Linked DNA regions of Homo sapiens: region 2 is linked to region 1. Evidence: promoter capture Hi-C in 16 types of primary human blood cells and fetal thymus (Javierre and others, 2016). All regions are on one chromosome and are shown on one strand. Each heading gives the region's core, a stretch centred on a gene start or on the middle of the fragment in contact. The rest is flanking DNA. Distances are from core to core; before and after follow the strand shown. Region 1 holds the start of NTN4 (netrin 4). Region 2 overlaps FGD6 (FYVE, RhoGEF and PH domain containing 6).

Evidence for each region. The method cuts DNA at HindIII sites, captures the fragments that hold promoters and counts their contacts. A CHiCAGO score of 5 or more calls a contact.
Region 2: a fragment that was not itself captured here is called in contact with the fragment with the promoter of NTN4 in region 1 in 1 of 17 cell types (naive CD4 T cells); the score reaches 5.2 in naive CD4 T cells.

What each region holds. Positions count from the first base shown.
Region 1 is chr12:95,789,227-95,792,928 of GRCh38, reverse strand. NTN4 (netrin 4) reads left to right here and starts at 2,165. Exons shown (of 10, transcript NM_021229.4): 1 at 2,165-2,674. The coding sequence starts at 2,620. It also overlaps the pseudogene RNU6-247P. The HindIII fragment of the contact is 5,039 bases long and covers 1-3,702 here.
Region 2 is chr12:95,109,745-95,113,225 of GRCh38, reverse strand. All of the region lies in intron 9 of FGD6 (FYVE, RhoGEF and PH domain containing 6), which reads left to right. Among named protein-coding and RNA genes, the nearest start is that of NR2C1, 38 kb to the right of the region's middle. The HindIII fragment of the contact is 179 bases long and covers 1,440-1,618 here.

The DNA of each region.
Region 1 (3,702 bases), core at 916-3,415:
CTTAGTCTCCTTAGCCCCTTAGTATATAACAATAGTTTTAACACAACTCAGTCAAAAACATGTAATGAACACTTATTGTAGGTGTTCTTGGCTAAGAATAAGGAAAAATATCAGAAAAACATAGTAATGTTTTGTATAAACTGAATATTAAAGACTGTTCTACCATTAGAGAGCTTTCTGTCTTGTTAAAGGAAATAAGAGCCAGTTATTCAGCAAAGAAATATATTATCAATGCAGGATTCGTGCAGACAGTAAATGGCTTTGAAATTTGTAATGAGATATGGAGTAGTTCTGTGATTGCTTTGGCAGCACATATGCTAAAATTGGAACAATACAGAGAAGATTAGCATGGCCTCTGCATGAGAATGGCATACAAATTTGTGAAGCATTCTATATTTTTAGCAATATATTGTACTCTTGAAAAATGCTAAGACAGTGAGTGTATTCTTAAATGCATGTTAATATGCAAAAATGCATATGTTCATTGGCTAGATTTAGTCATTCCACGCTGTATACATATTTCAAAACATCATGTTGTACATGATAAATACATACAAGTTTATTTGTTAATTAAAAAACAGAAATGGATTAGTTCTGCCTAAATATACTAGACTCAGAAGTTAATAATAAATGTGCATCCACCCCTTTGTTTAATTTGCCTTGGCTATTAAGTTAACATTTATGCTAAGAACCTTTGGCTGTTATAGTTTCCTATCATTTATTTGGTAAAAAGATTAATTGGAGAGGTGTTTCAATGGCTCCATTAGGAGATATGAAGAAAGCCCCACCATTGCCAGTATTTGGGAACTCAAAGCGTTTATTTTCTAAAGCAGGTGATGCTACATGAATTGCTGTCCACACCTTCTGCTACTTTCCTCTGTTGGCCAGAAGAATAATTTTAATGTCGCCCAAATGGATTATGCTGACCTCAACCCAGATCCCCCTGGGAGATATAAACTTCTTATATGTTCCTGGCTGGGTCATTGTAAATAATATCTACATGTATCCCAAAGCTCTGAATTATCCTCATCTGTAACAGACACAACGACTAAATGGTATCTGGAACGTAGTTAATTTTCTGGAAAATATTCAAAGGAACAAAATGAGCACTGCAATACAAAATTGCTGTCGACTTAACTTTTGCCAGTTTCCCTGGATGTGTAAGTAGAATTATATTTTCACAGAACTTGCAAAAATCTCAGACTCGGCTGCTATTTAATCTCTTTCCAGAAGCACCAGCCCTGAGCAATCCTATCTGCAATTAGCTGCGTGTGGTTGCTACTAAATTGCTCCCCATAAGTTAGTTCCTAACACTGTTTCACAGCACGGCATACTCTATAAAGGGAGAACGCTTGGAAGGACCGAAGAGTTCCCTTTGTCGTGCCCTTGCCCTGCCTCTGGACAACGATGTTCTTACACTGCCGACTAGCTAATCCTGTGACCCTTTTCTTTCAGCACCTTGAGTTTGAGTTAGGCAATACCTCTTACACCAAAGTGGGCACACCTTCGGATCATGTAGGCAGCGATTGTTTAGCCGAGACATCCCCCTACCCCCGCAAAAGGCAGCAGAGAAGCGGCGAACGCCGCTTAGCAGTTGGCGCGCTCTCAGTGCGGGTGACGCGGGGCTGGGTTGGGGTGTTCCGTCCCCGGGTCGTGGGACTCCCCGAGAGGGGGTGGCTGGAGGAGGAGGGAGGGCTTGTTTCGCTGGGGGATGTGGGAAGTAGGCGCTAGCCTGTTTCGCGGTTTTTTAAGCCCCTTGGCATGCCCTGACCTGATCTAGAGGGAGTCTACTGCTCTTAGGAATGTTCCGGGAGAAGGTGGGAGATTGCTTCCCAGGGGAGGCCTGTGGGTGCTGCAGGGCACCAGGGGGGTCACTAGGGAGATGCAGGGCGCGGGCCAGGAGGGGCGCCAGGGCAGCCGGGGGCCAGGCTGAGGCGACCGGGACCAGCGGGCAGCCGGGCGTCGGGGGCGTCGGTCGGGGCGCGGGGGACCCCCCCCCCGGGCGGCAGCGGCAGCGGCGATCCGATCCCGCGGGCTGCGCCGCCCGGGCTGTCAAGCGCGGGGGGCGGGCGGGAGGAAGGGGTGGAGGTGCGAGGGGAGGAGGGCTGGCACCGGAGCGCCGCGGCGTCGGTGCAATAAAAATGCATCGCATGGAACTGCCCGTGGAGAAGGACGGGACGGAGCCGGGGCAGCCAGAAGAGGTGGGAAAAGCGGAGGAGGACGCCCAGGAGGAGGCGGCGGCGGCGGCCGGGAAGTGAAAGGTCTCGCAAAGTTCAGCGGCGGCTGCGGGCGCCGAGCCCCGGGCTAGCGGCAGACGAGCCCGCAGGGCCGCTCCGCGGGGCAGCGCAGCCAGGCCGGCTATGGTCCCGGGGCTCCCGCCGCCCCCCAGGTGCCCGGGACCCGCCAGGCCGGTGCGCGAGGGTCACCCCACCTCCCCGCGCGGTCCCGGCCCCTGGCTCCCAGCTGCCGGCGACCGCTGACCGAGCCCGGCGCCCCAGGAGGAGGAAGAAACCAGGGCCCCGTTCCCTCCCGAGGACGGCGGCGCTTCATCCCGCAGCCCAGAGGTCTCGGCTCCCTCCGGCACCCGCCCGGCCCGGCTGCTCCCGGCTCCTCCCGGCCATGGGGAGCTGCGCGCGGCTGCTGCTGCTCTGGGGCTGCACGGTGGTGGCCGCAGGTGGGTGGTGACGCGGCGGGGCCCCCACCCCTTCCCTCGCTGCTTCTCTAACCCATCTCGGGACTCGGGGGTGCAGGGGAGCCAGGGCTGCGAGCGCAGAGCGCTGCTCCCGAGGGTGAAATGAGTGGCCATGTTCCGCCTCCTTTCCCCGGGGCTCCGCAGTTTCAAATACTATTGATTTATTTTTACAACTGGGATACACATGCGCTTGGATAACCAGCTATCCTGGGTGCGCCCTGCCGGGGATACTGCGACCGGGGTTTCTTTCTTGGTTTGGCTTGTTAAAAAACTGCTTTTCCACTTGGTGAGGGAACAAAGGACCCAGCTCGCCATCCCCCGGCACTTCATGGCCTAAGGAATGATGAGGAGGGGTGGCCCAGCGACCCTGGGCGCGCGTGGGCTGGGGCCGGTCTCTGGTAGAAGCCCATCGCTGGTGTCCCTGACCTGGTGCTGGGTACTAGAGAACCAGGTAAGGACACCTGGGGCAGGGCTGAGCGCCCTCTCCCCGGAGCAGTGACTGGAACGCAGTGGGACTCCTGGCTTGGACGATAGGTGGTGATCACCCCGGGCTTGCATTGAGCTGGCTGGCCGCCCCTGGGGAATTGGTACCCTGGCAGAGACTCTGCGGGAGGTCGGAGGCGGGTCTGCTCCCTGGCTCGGTAACTGGACAACCGGCGTCGGCGTCGGCAGATGCCCTCTCCCTCCCACTCCCATCCTGGCTTTCTTGGGCTGCCCTAGGCCACCGGCTCCTGGCTCGTGGTTTCTGTATTCGGGAGCCCCTTCTGCTCCTCTCCCTCCCTCTTGCGGGTCACCTGGTTTCCAGTTAGGCGTAAGCGCAGCCCTGTAGGTGAGGGGGAGAGATGTGAGGGAGTCTGCAGACATCCAGTCTCTCGTGCGGATCTTGACTGCTTCAGAAAGGGGCGCCTGGGCTAGAGGGATGCGCTGGTGGCTACAGAACATTGTAGCACGCATCTCCTCCCTTGGGCTTCCACTCTTCCCTGAGGGCCGCTGGCACCCAGCAAAATCCA
Region 2 (3,481 bases), core at 280-2,779, 680 kb after region 1:
AGGCCTTCCTGGAAACTCCATTTTGAGCAGATTAACATAGAACCAGTTAAGTAGTAAAGCAGTGCTGGGGATAGGTGAGATGATATGGGCAGGGGAGACCCATGGCCAGCCCTGCATGGGAACCAGCCTCTTGCGACTGTGAAGCCAGCGTGGTGGCTGAGGTCAGGAATCTTTGCCCTCCTGTGCTCAGTCACTCTGTGCCCGTGCCATATTCAGTTTCCCTAGAGGTCCATTTCTTTGTCTTTCAAAAACAGGGATTGAACCAGATCTGCAAGGTCCTCAAGCTTCAAAATCATGAGTCCATGAAGTGACTAAACTACAAAGCAGGGATGAGTCTAAAAAAGCATATTATTCTGGCACTGTCTAACAATAGGATATTAGCCTTCCCTCAGCCCTAGTAGTACTTAAGGGAAACAATCCATTACAACATGAGGGACTCATAGCTAGTGGGATAATTGGAGTTCCTGTGTCTGTGTGCCTGTGTCTCTCTCCCTCACAATCTCTCTCCCTCCCTCTCTCGCAGATACACACACATACACACAGATTAATTCTGTTTGGGTGTTTCTGTTTATTCCCAACAACCTCTTTCAAATGTCACAGGTATACCCCTTGTTCTTTTTTTGTTTGAGACAGAGTCTCACTCTGTCACCCAGGCTGGAGTGCAGTGGCACGATATCGGCTCACTGCAACCTCTGCCTCCTGGGTTCAAGCAATTATCCTGCCTCAGCCCCCCAAGTAGCTGGGACTACAGGCATGTACCACCATGCCCGGCTGATTTTTGTATTTTTAGTAGAGATGGGGTTTCACCATATTGGCCAGGCTGGTCTCGAACTCCTGACCTCAAGTGATCTGCCCACCTTGGCTTCCCAAAGTGCTGGGATTACAGATGTGAGCCACCATGCCCAGCAACGCCTGGGTCTAACTGCAGAAACATGTTAAGCAAGTCCATTAATTTTATGAATTTTGATCACATTTTTTTTTTTTAATTTTTTGAGACAGAGTCTTACTTTGTCACCCAGGCTGGAGTGCAGTGGCATGAACACGGCTCACTGCAGCCTCAACCTCCTGGGCTCAAGTAATTCTCTTGCCTCAGCCCTCCAAGTAGTTGGGATTACAGGCACATACCATCACACCCTGCTAATTTTTATATTTTTTGTAGAGACAGGGTTTCACTATCTTGCCCAGGCTGGTCTCGAACTCCTGAGCTCAAGCGATCCACCTGCCTCAGTCTCCCAAAGTGCTGGGATTACAGGCATGAGCCACCACACCTGGCCTGATCACATTCTTGTATATCCTTTACATTTGCAGAGTAAAAAGTGAACATTTTTAACCCTTTTTGTAGAGATTCTTATATATTCTTTTAATCATTTTACTTCTCTTAACATCTTCTGTTTGTGTACATTATGCTTTTAAAGGCGGTTTTTTTTAAAGGAAAAGCTTGTGGTTGGGGATCTGACAAGTTTCCTGTCTTCAGTGATCATATCTAGTTGATGAAGAAGTTTATAATATCCATCAAATAAAGAACAAAGCAAATGACTTCAAAGTAAGGGTGCACCGAGCAGGACAGAATTATTTGGATGACAGAGAAAAGTGTGAAGGTTAAAGAGGCAGGGAAGCTTTGCAGGAAAAAGTAGGACTGGAGATGAGTGGGAGAGTGGGTGAGAGGAAAAATGAGCATTCCCGACGGCAGCCCCTCTCGTGAGGATACAAATTATACATGGAACTTATAGAATAGAAAGAAAACATCTGTCCTGGGTCCTGGGCTTCTGCCTTCAATGAAAGTGAGTTATTAGCTCCATTTTACACATAAAACAAATTCAGGGTCAGAGATTAAGGAGCTTATTTAAAGGAAATTACATGTGACAGCAAAGACATAGATGAGAAAACCAGTGAACAGTGAGGCCCACTGTATGGCCAGAGGCACAGCAATCATATGGTGAGCAGTGGCCGGGCGTGGTGGCTCATGCCTATAATCCCAGCAATTTGGGAGGCCGAGGCAGGTGGGTCACTTGAGGCCAGGAATTCAAGACCAGCCTGGGCAACATGGCAAAACCCTTTGCTACTAAAAATACAAAGATTAGTGGGGCATGGGGGTGCATGCCTGTAATACCAGGTACTCAGTAGCTGAGGCATGAGAATCGCTTGAACCTGGGAGATGGAGGTTGTAGTAAGCCGAGATCCCGCGACTGCACTGTAGCCTGGGCGACAGAGCAAGACTCTGTCTCAGGAAAAAAAGAGTGGTGAGCAGTGTGGATGAGACTTCAAGGGTGAGGGAAGGTGAGGCAAGAATAACTTTGAAAGGTAGGCAGAAGAGTTAAAGGAATAGAGGCATCAGGGCCTCTTAACGGGATGACGTGGGGAAAGTAGAATCACAGCATGGAGTAGGGAAGGTAGAGCTTGGGAGACCAGGTGACCAAGTAGCAGCAGCAGCTTTGTCATCCATTAAATCTTAAGGCATCTCTCCCCTGTCCACCGGGAATTCCAGCAGGCCAGAAAGCAGGAAATGTGTCCACGGTAACCTCTTGAACCTGCTGTGAAAAGGGTACCAGGCACCGTAAATTCTGATACATGGCTGAGTACCGTGGCTCACACCTGTAATCCCAGCACTTTGGGAGGCTGCGGCGGGTGGATCACCTGAGGTCAGGAGTTTGAGACCAGCCCTGCCAACATGGCGAAACCCCGTCTCTACTAAAAATACAAAAATTAGCTGGGCATACTGGTGTGCACCTGTAATGTCAGCTATGCAGGAGACTGAGGCAGGAGAATTGCTTGAATCTGGGAGGCGGAGGTTGAGTAAGCCAAGATCATGCCACTGCACTTCAGCCTGGGAGACAGAGCAAGACTGTCTCAAAAAAAAAAAAAAATTCTGATATATAGTCAGGGTCTCTATATAAGGAAAAACCTGCTTTCCTTTAATAATAGTGATGATGATACATGTGGAAAGAATACAGGCCGGGTGTGGTGGCTCACACCTGTAATCCCAGCACTTTGGGAGGCTGAGGCGGGCGGATCACGAGGTCAGGAGATCAAGACCATCCTGGCTAACACGGTGAAACCCCGTCTCTACTAAAAATACAAAAAATTAGCTGGACGTGGTGGCAGGTGCCTGTAGTCCCAGCTACTTGGGAGGCTGAGGCAGGAGAATGGTGTGAACCCGGGAGGTGGAGCTTGCAGTGAGCCAAGATCGCGCCACTGCACTCCAACCTGGGTGACAGAGCAAGAAAAAAAAAAAGAATACAGAAGCCTCCACGGCTGGTACCAGGAAGACAGTCCTTTGATAGATTACAATAACTGGACCAAAACACCTCAACCCCTTTTCAGAAATTGATTTACTGTTGTTGTTTTTGTTTCGTTTTGTTTTGTTGAGACAGGGCCTCATTCTGTCACCTAGGCTGGAATGCAGTGGTGTGATCTGGGCTCACTGCAGCCTTGACCTCCTGGGCTCAAATGATCCTCCCACCTGAGCGCCCCAAATTGCTGG